Linked DNA regions of Homo sapiens: region 1 is linked to region 2. Evidence: promoter capture Hi-C in 16 types of primary human blood cells and fetal thymus (Javierre and others, 2016). All regions are on one chromosome and are shown on one strand. Each heading gives the region's core, a stretch centred on a gene start or on the middle of the fragment in contact. The rest is flanking DNA. Distances are from core to core; before and after follow the strand shown. Region 1 overlaps RLF (RLF zinc finger). Region 2 holds the start of EXO5 (exonuclease 5).

Evidence for each region. Contacts are between HindIII fragments. The CHiCAGO score rates a contact against its expected background, and 5 or more counts as called.
Region 1: a contact is called between a fragment that was not itself captured here and the fragment with the promoter of EXO5 in region 2, in 6 of 17 cell types (naive CD4 T cells, total CD4 T cells, naive B cells and 3 more). The highest score is 7.6, in naive CD4 T cells.

Annotation. Positions count from the first base shown.
Region 1 is chr1:40,205,746-40,213,108 of GRCh38, reverse strand. All of the region lies in intron 5 of RLF (RLF zinc finger), which reads right to left. Among named protein-coding and RNA genes, the nearest start is that of TMCO2, 39 kb to the left of the region's middle. The HindIII fragment of the contact is 168 bases long and covers 2,081-2,248 here.
Region 2 is chr1:40,503,386-40,510,094 of GRCh38, reverse strand. EXO5 (exonuclease 5) reads right to left here and starts at 1,328. Exons shown (of 4, transcript NM_001346953.2): 1 at 1,187-1,328; 2 at 470-644; 3 at 305-362. It overlaps EXO5-DT (EXO5 divergent transcript), which reads left to right and starts at 1,400. Exons shown (of 2, transcript NR_187365.1): 1 at 1,400-1,506. RefSeq lists enhancers at 922-1,011, 1,042-1,291. The HindIII fragment of the contact is 5,200 bases long and covers 89-5,288 here.

The DNA.
Region 1 (7,363 bases), core at 915-3,414, 300 kb after region 2:
ATTATCTCATTCCTTGTATGATCACAAGGATAAAGTAGAAGTATTAAGACTTTCAAAATAATCAGGCAATTAAACACCAATGGTCTAACAGGCAGCCAATTAGCATAAAAGAAGGTGGTGGAGGTGGCATATTTTAAACTTAATTAAACCTTTTGTAATTATTCCTTGTTCAGAGTTCATCTTAATCTTGATTCTTACTTAAACTACATCTGGAATTTCTATACTCCTGTTTACTTTTTCTTCTACTCCCAAACTGAATTCCCACTGGGTCCTGTTTAAAGGTATCTGCTCTATCATTTATACCTAGTGACTGTGTCAATTCCCAACAGTGTTAGGCTGGTAAGTAAATTGGATCCTGTTTGTCCTTTCCTTTCCCCATCAGGAAAAGAAACAACCATCTGCTATTGTGTCTATCAACCACGTCAGATACCGAAGATGTAGTTCATTCAGGGATTAAGAATGAAACGGACCCCTGCCTTAACTGCGCCAAGAACTCTGCTGACAGATTTCTTGAGCTCTTTAAAATAGAAGTGCTTGATGTTTAAAATGTTATCTTTTCTATGTTGAAAACCTGATCTTTGCAAAGACTTCCCCTTTCAGTAATGAAAAAATATAGGAAACATCCACTTGGGACACTGAGCCACTGCCAAGTCTATAACTTTTATTAAAATCCTTTAATATGTAAAGTTAATAGCAATGTCATCTCATTCAATTCTACATAAATAAAGTATCACAACCTAAAACTCCAGGATTCCATGAAATTCTTCTGCCTTCCAGACCTACCAGATATCTGAAAGGACTCACTCTTTACCCACTAGGTTCTGAATTTTGACTTTCAGATGACCCAGTCAATTAATCTTAATTGTATGTGTCTGGCTAAATCTTCCCCAGCAGCGGTTTCCCATTACATATGCCTATTATTGGGATACCCCCAGGTACCAACATACAATGTACTTTTATTCCCAGCTGTTGCTCAAGTTAACTCTTCTCCTGAACTCAGGTGAAGTAGATGGCAAATATGTGTGTAACTCTGCTACTTTAGAACGTATGCTGAATTTAAACTCTAATTAATCAACATCTGGTGACTCACTAGTAATTTTCCAAAGCAAACTACAGATTATTTTTAATTCTGTTGACACTTGCAAAAGAAAAGTATCACTAGGATAAGAGACTGACTAGTGGCTGGGCGTGATGGCTCATGCCTTGTAATCCCAGCACTTTGGGAGGCCGAGGCGGGCGGATAACAGGAGGTCAGGAGTTTGAGACCAGCTGGTCACCAGTAGAAACGGTGAAACCCCGTTTCTACTAAAAATACAAAAATTAGCCAGGCGTGGTGGCACGTGCCCGTAATCCCAGCTACTCGGGAGGCTGAAGCAGGAGAATCACTTGAACCCGAGAGGCAGAGGTTGCAGTGAGCCGATATCACGCCATTGCACTCCAGCTTGGGCAACAAGAGTGAAACACCATCTCAAAGAAAAAGAAAGGAAAAAAAAAGACTGACTAGTTATGATGATACGATGATACTAGGGTTCCTTTAAAATAATTTTAAGATAACTTTATGTGTACTAAATGTTTTGCATTGGTATATTTAACAAATTAATCCACATCATGATAAAAATGTTTTAAATCACACCTATATGTATAAATATGAACAGAATGATATATCACCAAGATGTTCCCAATCAGACCATGGCTTATCAATGTCTAACACATGGAAATAGGTGGTAGAGTGGAAAGAAGGCTGACCAAGGAGCCAGGTGACCTGCATTCCAGCTGGGCTTGGCCTTTCTAATTAGCTTAATGCAGGAAGGGCCTTGGAAACATTATCAGCTTGGCTTCAGTTTCATCACGTGTAGAACACGGAGGGTTAGACCAACCGATATTAAACCACTGAAATAGACTGGAAAATTTAATTCTTGTAGAGCAGAGGTTAGCAAATATTTTTCGTACAAGGACAGACAGAAAATATTTTTAGCTTTTCTGGCCAGAGAGTTTCTGTTACAACTACTCACCTCTGCCACTGTAGCACAAAAGCAGCCACAGACAAGAAATGAATGTAAGACTTTGTGCCAGTAAAGCTTTATTTATAAAAACAGGTAGCTGGGTGGGTGCCAACCCCCTGTTGTGAATAGTATCAAATCGTATTTCCTATAACACAGTTCCCTGCAAACTCAACACAATCAGGAAAAATCCTGTTTCCAAACATTGTTATTAATAAACCAGGAAAGATCATGTATAAAACAAAGCTTATCATCTTCCCAGACTCTCCCTTGTCCCTCCACCCATTCTTTCTTCTAATTAGCAGCAGAGCACCACTATTCTTCCAGTCTCCCAAGCTAGAAGCCTTATGAGCCTCTTGAAGGTATCTCTGTACATCCTCCTCTGTTTTTGCCCGGTCAGCAAGTCCTGTCCTTTGTCCTCTTGCTGGCTACAATCTCTTGTCCTAAACATAATACATATTCTTTCTGTCTAGTCTTCCTAAAACACCACTTCAGACATGTCACTTCCTAACTGCAAAGCCTTCTTAATTTCTACTGCATCAAATCTAACCATTAATGCAATGGAGTTTCCAAGCCCTTCTTTTCCAACCCCAACAGGTCTTATTTCTCACAAGACTTCAATAACCACTCTGCCCTAAGCAGGGTATTTATTCTCCAGTGGATCCCTGCAAAGTACTCATTAGTACCTGTGCTTTACTACCATTCAGTCATCTCCAAACCATTCTTTCCACCCATCCAAACCCCACCATTACTTAAAGCTCCAATTCAAGGATCAATTTTTCTATAAACACAGAATTCTCTATCTTTACACTTCTACTGAATTTAGGGCAGTAATCATTGAGCTTAGTACTTCTCTTTCTGTAACTATTTTTGGCAAACAAACTGGGCCATACAGTTTGCTGTATTTGCCAATGCCTAATACAACATTAGAAACAAAACGGGTTTTAATTAAGCAAAGGCTGAGAGAGTAAAGTTGTTATTATTACAGGATGAGGAATCAAACCCAAAATGTAGTGTTTTGCTGCTGCTTTTGAATTGTTTTGGCATGTGTCAGGTGCTGAGAATAACCATTACTACATCTCAGTCTGATTAACTTTCCCAAACATAAAATACTGCAGCTGCTATTAGAGGTAAGCAATCTATCTCCTTACACTACCTGATACTGCAAATAAATAAATTAGCATACAGGTTTATAGTTGGTCTCTTATGATCGCCTTTTTTTTTTTTTTTTAAGACGGAGTCTCGCCCTGTCGCCCCAGCTCGAGTGCAAATGGCACGATCCTGGCTTACTGCAACCTCTGCCTCCTGGGTTCAAGTGATTCTCTTGCCTCAGCCTCCTGAGTAGATGGGATTACAGGCGCACACCACCACACCTGACTAATTTTTTGTATCTTTAGTAGAGACAAGGTTTCACCATGTTAGCCAGGCTGGTCTTGAACTCCTGATCTCATGATCTGCCCGCCTCGGCCTCCCAAAGTGTTGGGATTACAGGCATGAGCCACTCTGTCCAGCCCATATGACTGCTTTTAAAAATGTAGATGAAGTCATAGGAGGCTATCTCTGTGTATACCACATTGTTTCTCTGTGCAAATTCAGGTTTCACCTCTGATCAATCTTGACTTCGACGGATCCTCCCTAGTTCTGCACCCCAGGCTTAAAGAATTCTTATACTAGGGTCTATGTTTGTAAGGTGTCTAAAATATGCCAAGAACTGTGTTAAGTGCTTTAGATATTATCACATTTAAACTATCCAGCCATTTTGTGAGACGGCTACTACTGTTGTGCCTACTTTATAGATAAGGAAAATAAAGCTACCTGGCCAAGGCTGTATGGCTAGTAAATGACAATGTCAAGATTCAAGCCTACATATTTTGATTGTTGCTTTCACTTCTCTAGATGTCTTGTGAAAAACATACTCTACCTAAGCTCCTCAGTAAATCCAGTCCAGTAATGAGCCACCCACAAGCCTCAGAACTTCAAAGTCCCCTCCCATCTTTTCTGAAGTTTCCCCTCTGGGTAAACAAAAGAAATAAAAACTTGCCTGCACAACAAGTCTACTTTAAGAACCAGAATCCAGAAAGAACCAGAAGGTTGGCAGTGACAGTGAGTTGGATCATGTACATGAGATGTGTGAGTGTCAGATTAATATGTATAAAAGCAAAGCAGAGGCAGATCACCTTGGATTTAAACCCTGGGCACACCACTTACTGGACATCTTACTACTATGCGCCAGTAATATCATCTCTCAGAGCCTCAGTTAATTTCTATAAAATTCAAAGTTTTTTTGTTTTTGAGACAGGGTCTTACTCTGTCATCTAGGCTGCAGTGCAGTGGTGTGATCTCAGCTCACTGCAACCTGCACCTCCAGAGCTCAAGCAATCCTCCCACCTCAGCCTCCCGAGTAGCTGGGACTACGGCACATGCCACCACGCCCAGCTAAGTTCTGCATTTTTTTTTGTAGAGATGGGGTTTCACCATGTTGCCCAGGCTGGTCTTGAACTCTTGGCCTCAAGCAATCTTCCCTCCTCAGCATCCCAAAGTGCTGGGATTACAGTCATGAGCCACCACACCTGGCCTAAATTAATAGATTTTTATAAGGATTAGATACCGACACATTTAAAGCACACAGCACAGTGCTTGGAATAGACAAGTGAGCAATAAATGTTTTCTGCAGTTATATTTAAGATTCAAGTAGAAAGTCTGAAAAGACAGGCAGTGCAAAGCATTTTATCCTTTGATTTCTTTATCACCAGAAAGTCTAACAAATAAGAACATTTATTAATGAGGCCCTAGGTCATAGCTTCAATCCCCATTTGAGGAAACTACATGTTGTCCACTTCATAGCCACCAACTGGCTGTTTCATCTCTGCATCCCGTATCTGTGCTCCTGTGTAAGGTCATTCCCCAAAACAAAGATGACTAGCATTCTGTCTCTATCTATACTTTCCCTGCCTAGACAATCCTCTCAGATTCAAGTTACTACTAAATCTCAAAGACCAGGCCACAGTGCTTCCAAGTGGAATGTTGCTAACCCAATATCCATCCCAGAATAAAGTCTGTGAGCACTTGAAAAAATACGTTAGTTGATAGAAATGCAAAGACTACTAGGAGCCAGGACAGAATCACAAATTCCTGGAGTCAGTATTTTGGCCACTGGGAAGTATCTTAGATATAAGTACATCTTAAATTTCAACAAGGGGCCAGGCGTGGTGGCTTACGCCTATAATCCCAGCACTTTGGGAGGCTGAGTCAGGCAGATTGCTTGAGGTCAGGAGTTGGAGACCAGCCTGGGCAACGTGGCAAAACCCTGTCTCTACTAAAAATACAAAAATGAGCTAGGTGTAGTGGCGCACGTCTGCAATCCCAGCTACTCAGGTGGTTGAGGCAGGAAAACTGCTTGAACTCAGGAGGTGGAGGCTGCAGTGAGCCGAGATCACGCCACTGCACTCCAGGCTGGGCGACAGAGACTCTGTCTCCAAAAAAAACAATTTTCAACAAAAAAATCTGATAAAAGATTCTCACAGTGGGAGATATGATCTGGGCCATAGCAGGGGGTCTTAGCCATTTGAAATAACTATTGACCCAAGCACTGATCCAGGATGCAATCAACCTATACAGAAATCTGAATCACAACACTGTACTTGGTTTCATCTTGGTTCTTATTTTTATAAATATACAGATAGCATAACTATATTTCAAAATAAAATAAAGCTGAGAGAGAGAAATATAAAATCACAATTTTAAAATTCAAAAAGACCTCCAAGCAAAGTTTAAAAACTTAGAAAGCATGAGTGGAATGTTCCAGCTTTGACATTCTGGTCATAACTCAGGTAATAAAGCTAGAAATCCTAGTAACAAAAGATCAAGGGATGAGGCTATACCTTTCATTAATTCATTCAATAAGTATTGAGTGCCTACATGGCTAAGCATTCTTCTAGAATACAGGGATATACCAGTAAACAACCTATGTTCCTGTCCTTCCGGAGTTTACAATCTAGTGGGAGGAAATACCGAATAATCAAATATGATGCCTAGTAGAAGCAGTAATGTGTACTATGAAGAAAATACAAATAGGCAGAAAGACAAAGTGATAGGGGTCATTTTAAATGGGTTAGTATATATTTATAATAATGACAGCAGATATTTAGGGCAGAGTAGGGGGCTAGGGTAATATTTTAGATGAGACAGCGAGGAAGGCCTCTCTGATATGGTAATATTGAACAGACATGAGAACATTTAGAGCAGACATGAGGTAAGGGAGTAAGCCATTCAAATTATCTTGTGGAAGGCAATTCTCGTCAGAGGGAATAGCAAGCACAAAGCTCTAAGACAGGAACATCCTTGGCTTGTTCAAAGAACAGCAAAGACAAGGCGGCTGGAGAGTAGTGGGCACTAAGATTACAAGATAAGGTGAGAGAACGTTAGAAAAGTAGCCAGGGCCCATGGCACATAGAATAAAGAATTCTGAATGTATTCTGAGTAAGATGGAAAGCTATTAGATAATTGTGTGCAGAGAAGTGGCATGGCACGACAAGTTTTAGAGAGATTATTCTGGCTATTTTCAAGATAAAATGTAGAGGCCAACAGTAAAACCAAGTATGCCAGTCCAGAGACTTCTGCATTCATCTTTGAACCCCAATGCCTAACACAGCATTTGGCATATAAACTCTAAGGTAAATACCAACAAGGATAATATTCCTTATCCTATGTCTTTAATATAATATTACTGGTAGTACACCAAACTCAGGTTTGAATCCCAGCTTAACCACTTTAGCTTTGTAACCTTGAAGCACACAACCTAATCTGAGCCTGACTTTCCTCATCAATAAAATGGAGCTACCTCAGAGCTATTGTGCTGATTAAATGTAGCAAAGTATATAAAGCATTTAGCATGGTGCCAAACACATAGTGAGGACTAAAAAAAACCCTCATAAAAGCAAAGTCCAAATATCAGGAATATCAAGAGCTTAGTTACGGACATGTTAAATCTGTAAGTAGAGATGGTAATTAGGCAATTGGATATGGGTCTGGAGTTTGGAGGAGGGAACAGGGCTGGAGAGAAAACTTTTGGGAGTCAGACCATAGTTGGTATTTAAAGCCAAAGATGAAGGAAATAAGCCTAGTTAAGTGTAAAAAGAGAAGACCCAATGACAGAGTCATTGGGTACTGCAACATGTACTCATCAGACAGCAAAGTAGAACTGAGAAAGGAGTAATCAATGAGGTAGACAGAAAACTGAAAGTCATCATTAGATTTAGTGATATGGTATACTGCCAGGGGCAAAGGTCATATTAGAATGTCTTGAAAGAAGAAAAATGGGCCAGGCACCGTGGCTCACGCCTGTAATCCCAGCACTTTGGGAA
Region 2 (6,709 bases), core at 79-2,578:
CTGGGAGTCCTACAGATATGGATTCTAAACCTAATCCTGAGTAGTTCGGTAGCATTTAGTAGTATGCTACTTGCCTTTTGAGTAAGCTTGGACAAGGTTCTAGTTTTCCTGAAGTTACTGACACATTTTTAAAATACCTACTAACCCTACTGAGATATCCGACCATTGAGTGATAACATATAGTACGCATATTAGCACTCGATGAAGATAGATCTCCTTCTTTTTCCCCAAGGAAGAGATGAGAGAGTGTATCGATTCCCCCTGACAAAGGAGATGAAACTTTAGAAGAGAAACTCCTATTCACCTGTGACTTCGTTGATCTTCCTCCTCATAGGGAAGGCCAGAATGCTGAAATGACAAGGCTAGGGAAGAGAAAGAAGTTCTGAAAGACCAGGTCTGCATTAAAGAACCTAAATTAGCAACTTAGGTCCTTGCTATGGTAGAACCGGAACTTCTGGTCCTTTCTTACCTGACCATTCCCTCACGTTGGGTGTTTTCTCCTCTCACATTGACACTGCACAGACTGTTACCCACCCCAGATCCTAGGTTACATAACGCTCGCCTCTCTCCTGGGGCAAACTCTCTCCATGATTTCTTCGTTCCCCCGTACTCTAGATGCAATGACTTGATCCAATCCCTGCTCCCTGAAAGTAAAAGGGTCAGACATAACCAAGATCCCCAAGGAGCTCCGAGATCAGTTCCCTCTTCCAGCTCCATTCTCAACCCAGCAGCTCAAGCAAGAGACCTTATGACAGCGGCTCTTTCTCTCAGATGGGTTACTGCCTTCTGCAGAATTGCCGATGGCAACATCCTGACTTGTTCAGTGCGGCCCGGACTTGTGGGCTCCGCGGGCGTTTGCCTTCAGGGAAGATCTTTCCTCTGGCCCTAAAGCACTGTCTCCCAGGGAGTGCCATGCATGCCCTAAAGTGTACTGAGCACTTCCTACAGTTCTGGCAGAGCCAGGAATAAGAACAGGGAGCCGTCCACCTCGGGAAGGAGTCCCGGCCAACAGCACTGTGTTCCGAGGGCGAAGGTCCAGAACGGGAACCCGGCCTGTGAGGGGAGACGAGACGAGCCGCTTCCCGGGAGCCGCGCCCACCAAGGGAGGGAGACGCGGCGATCGCAGGGACAGAACCCTAAGCTCCGAAACGCAGCCTCCCAGCCCATTCTCCGGCCTTCCCCTAACCTCTGATACTCCTCCGAACCTCGGACTCCACCTGGTTTCGCCGCGGCCTCGGAGCTGCTCCCGGACGCTCCCGGCGAGGAGACTGAGGAAGCCGGGCAGAGCGCGCTGCCGGAGCGGACTACACAGTCGGCCCGCCACTCGCAAAAAAGCCGCCCAGAGCCCAGTCCCAGAGTGCCCCGCGGCTGCCCACGGACCGCCTTCCCAGAGGCCCTCGCGGCGCCGCCTACCTCGCGAGGCTGCGGCTGGGGCAGAAATCCGTCTCTGTGAGCGGAGGAGGGTGTGCTTATGCGAGAGCAGGTTTTGGGAGCTCACTAAAGCAGGTCAGTCCCTCTGTTTGCGCCGTTGTCTGTGGGTCGTTTAATTCCGGGCGCAGCTGATCTGTAACTTCCCTCACTGGCGAGGTCTCCCAGTTACCACCGGGACAATCCGAGCAAGGTCTGGGCCCCTCGCTGCCCCCGGTGAAGTGCCGCGTCTCCGCTTGGCCATCCGTGGATTCAGCATCCCCACCTTAGCACCTCCCGCCGGCTTTTCCATTGAGAGCAAAACCACGAACTCACTTTTGAGAGATGCTGGCGCTCCCCTCATCAATATTTCTTTTTTTTTTTCTGTTTGCTTACTTTTAACTAACCTTTTATTGATAAATATAACACAATTTTATTCTGAAATATAAACCAAAGATAAGTATAATTATGAACAGCCAAGTCATTAGAGCGAAAAAAGAATAGTGTCAGGTTCTTCACAGATACACTTCCTGAGAAAACCACTAGCCCGACTTTTATAACACTTTGCTTTTCTTATTTATATTTATTTATTTATTTATTTTACCAAAAGCAGATACTTGACTCTTTGCTTTTCTTTACGGTTTATCACGCATACTTGAAAACTGGATTTATGACAAAGGTGGCATCATACAGCCATGGAGAAAAGATGGTCTATTCAGTGAAGGTTCTATGACAATATGAAGGCCGGGCACGGTGGCTCACGCCTGTAATCCCAGCACTTTGGGAGGCTGAGGTGGGCGGATCACGAGGTTAAGAGATCGAGACCATCCTGGCCAACATGGTGAAACCCTGTCTCTACTAAAAAGTACAAAAATTAGCTGGGTGTGGTGGCACACACCTGTAGTCCCAGCTATTCAGGAGGCTGAAGCAGGAGAATCGCTTGAACCGGGAGGCGGAGGTTGCAGTGAGCGGAGATCACACCACTGCACTTCAGCCTGGGCAACAGAGGGAGACTCCGTCTCAAAAAAAAAAACAAAACAGAAAACAGGACCTCTATCTCTCATTTCATCACAAAAATCAATTGTAGCTGGATTAAGACCTAAATGTGAAATCCTAAACTATAAAGTCTTCAGAATATAATATAGGAAAATATCTTTGGACTTCAGAATAGGTAAATATTTTAAAACAAAAATAGAAAAACATTAAATTGGCCAGGCATGGTGGCTCATGCCTGTAATACCAACACTTTGGGAGGCCCAGGTAGGCGGATCACTTGAGGTCAGGAGTTGAGACCAGCCTGGCCAACATAGTGAAACCCCGTTTCTAGTAAAAATACAAAAAATTAGCCAAGTGTGGTGGCAGGTGCCTGTAATCTCAGCTACTTGGGAGGCTGAGGCAGGAGAATCACTTGAACCTGGGAGGCGGAGTTTGCAGTGAGCCGACAACAGGCCACTGCACTCCAGCCTGGGTGATAAAGTGAGACTCTGTCTCAAAAAAAAAAAGGAAAAAAAGAAAGAGAAAAAAGGAAAGAAAAAGAAAGAAAGAGAAAGAAAGAAAAGAAAAGAAAGAAAGAGAAACATTAAATTAAGACAACTACAGGCTGAGTGCAGTGGCTCACACACCTGTAATCCTAGAACTCTGGGAGGCCGAAGTGGGTGGATCCCTTGAGCTCAGTTCAGAAACCAGCTGGGGTAACATGGTGAAAACACGTCTCTACAAAAAATACAAAAATTAGCTGGGGGTGGTGATACGTGCCTGTAGTCCCAGCTACTCTGGTGCGTCAGTTGGGAAAATTTTGAAGTGACTTGTGTTTTAGATAATATTATCAATCAATTATAGGTCTCCTGAGTGTCATAATGATTTTGTGGTTATGTAGGAAAATGTTCTTTTTCTTAGAAATATGTAAGTTGAGGCCAGGTACGGTGGCTCTCGCCTGTAATCCTAGCACTTTGGGAGGCCGAGGCGGGCGGATCACCTGAAGTCAGGAGTTCAAGACCAGCCTGGCCAACATGGTGAAACCCTGTCTCTACTAAAATACAAAAATTAGCCGGGCATGATGGCAGGTGCCTGTAATCCTAGCTACTCGGGAGGCTGAGATGGGAGAATCGCTTGAAACCGGGAGATGGTGGTTGCAGTGAGCCGAGATCATGCCACTGCACTCCAGCCTGGGTGGCTGACTGAGACTCTTGTCTCAAAAAAAAAAAAAAAAAAAAATGGAATTTAAGTGTATTAAATAGTCTGTTCTCATGCTGCTAATAAAGACATACCTGAGATTGGGTAATTTATAAAGGAAAGAGATTTAATTGACTCACGGCTCCACATGGCGGGGGAGGCCTCACAATCATGGAGGAAGGTGAAGGAGGAGCAAAGTCACCTCTTACATGGTGGCAGGCAAGAGAGAACATGTGCAGGGGAACACACCTTTATAAAACCATCAGGTCAGCTGGGTGTGGTGCCTTATGCCCGTAATCCCAGCACTTTGGGAGGCCATGGCTGGTGGATCACCTAAGGTCAGGAGTTCAAGACCAGCCTGGCCAACATGGTGAAACCCTATCTCTACTAAAAATACAAAAAATTAGCCAAGCATGGTGGCAGACGCCTGTAATCCCAGCTATTCGGGAGGCTGAGGCAGGAGAATCACTTGAACCTGGGAGGCGGAGGTTGTGGTGAGCTGAGATCGCGCCACTGCACTCCAGCCTGGGCAACAAGAGTGAAATTCCATCTCAAAAACAAAAACGAAACAAAACAAAACCATCAGATCTTGTGAGACTTATTCACTATCACGAGAACAGCATGGGAAAGACCTGCCCCCACGATTCAATTACCTCCTACCAGGTACCTCTTCCATGATATGTGGGAATTATGGGAGCTACACTTCAAGATGAGATTTGGGTTGGGAGACAACCAAACCATATCATTGAGGAAATGCTTTTTAATCCATTGAGATATGAGAAGGCATTTCTGGATTGAGGCTACAAAAACTTTCTGCCTCTTCCCCAACATAACCTTTCTTACTTGAGATGTAAACTGAATGCCAGGAAAACCCCTCCCCAACCCCTTCACACATGGACCACTCCTCAAATGGGGTTTGAGGGGCAATGACACTGGGTAGAGTGAAGCAGAAGAGATTTAGAAACAGTCATGGAATTTGTGGGGAAAATAAATATCAAAAACATAGTACCATATATTCCCCAAAACTTTCAGCCTAAAGACTGTGGGTCTCAAAACTGAGAAAAGAATGCCCTTTTCCCCAAAAGGCTATCCTAGGAAGTCTGAGTCCTTAAGGCCCACCTGTATGCAAAAGTCACTGATTTGGTTCTTCCATCTCCAGGTCTGTAACCATCAAAATACTGTTAGACACAAATGGCCCATTTTCCTCTGTGTCCATTCTTCCCTCCTTGGTGTTTTGGAGCACAGGACTGTACCCCTAACATTGTACTGACTACAGTCTACCATATATCGGAGTAAGTCTTTATGTGATTACTCCCAGAGCTGCACTGTCCAATACAGTAGCCACTAGTCATATGTGGCTCTTGAACACTTGAAATGTGGCTAGTCCAAAATGAAATGTGCTATAATTATAACATTTACAAGCACTTTGAAGCTGAGTACAAAAAAAAGGTTAAATAACTCACTAATAATGTTTACATTGATTAAATGTTGAGATGATAATGTTTTGGATATATTGGTGATATGGTTTGGCTCTGTGTTTTCCACCCAAATCTCACCTTGAATTTTAATAATCCCCATGTGTCATGGGAGGGACCCAGTGGTAGGCAATTGAATCATGGGGACGAGTTTTTCCTGTGCTGTTCCCGTGATAGTGAATAAGTCTCACAATATCTGATGGTTTTATAAAGGGGAGTTCCCCTACACAAGCTTCTTGCCTGCTGCCATGTAAGACATGCCTGCTCTTCCTTCGCCTCCCGCCATGATTGTGAGGCCTCTCCAGCCATGTGCAATGGTGAGGCCATTAAACCTCTTTCCTTTATAAATTACCCAGTCTTGGGTATGTCTTTATTAGCAGCATGAGAACAGACTAATAAAACTGAGTTAAATAAAACATCTTAAAATTAAGCTGGGTGTGGTGGCTCATGCCTGTAATTCCAGCACTATGGGAGGCCAAGGTGGGTGAATCACCTGAGGTCAGGATTTCAAGACCAGCCTGGCCAACATGGCAAAACCCCATCTCTACTACAAATACAGAAATTAGCCAGGCATAGTGGCATGTGCCTGTAGTCCCAGCTACTCAGGAGGCTGAGGCATGAGAATCTCTTGAACCCAGGAGGCAGAGGTTGCAGTGAACCAAGACTGCACTACTGCACTCCAGCCTGGGCAACAGAGTGACTCTGTCTTTAAAAAAAAATTAATTTTACTTGCTGTTTTTTGTTGTATTAATGTAGCTGCTAGAAAATTTAAAATTACATATGTTTGCATTTGTGTTGTGGCTTACATTATATTTCTGTTGTACAGTGCTGCTCTGGAGTATCAGAGCCTTAAAGGAAGAGAATTTATCTTGCTCAAATTGTGTTCCTCACAGGTATAGGGGCAATAATCGGCATACTCTTTACATGCTCAAGAGAACTCCATTGACAATATTCAGTATTTGAGAATCTTCTATTCCTTATATGAGAATCAGCCTCTCTCTTGAGTCAAACTCCAATTTCTGGCAATTGAAAGGGGCATTTTTAGTCGGAGAAAGCAGGAGGAGGTAGCCCTAGGCCAGGAAGTTGTGGGGGGTGAGAATGAGCTAAGGATGAACGACTGGGGCATGCTTCTGCTAAAAGAAGGCAGCTTCGGATATGGTACATTATGAACCCTTGAGTCAAGGGGTTTTCTCTTTCCATTTCTTGGATCTGTTTCTCCTGTGTTTGCTCCATATCCGGCAGCCTCCCTCCTCTTCCACTGCTAGTAGCTTCCAGGACCATGAAAGCCTTTCAGATTTGTGTCCATTGTGGGAAAAAAGGAAGTCTGTTTCCCTAATAGCTGAAACATAAGTTCAGAAATTGTTCCTGATTGGTAAACTGGGGTTAAACTCTATGCCTGTCTTAGCCAGAGTCTTCTAGAAAACAGAGCCTGAGGCAAGGATTAGAGTCCTTTTTTTTTTTTTTTTTTTTTAATTTGGAAGGTGTTAAGCACGTGGTAGCAAGGATAAGAAAAGAAAAGAGGGACGTGGAGCAAGTAACAATGTAAAGCAAATTGAAGTGGTAAGTTATTGCACTGGGCTATTGCCTCATGTTGAGACGTGGTTCTCCCAAACTGATTTCACAGTAATTTTATAAAATTTAAACCCCACGTTGTC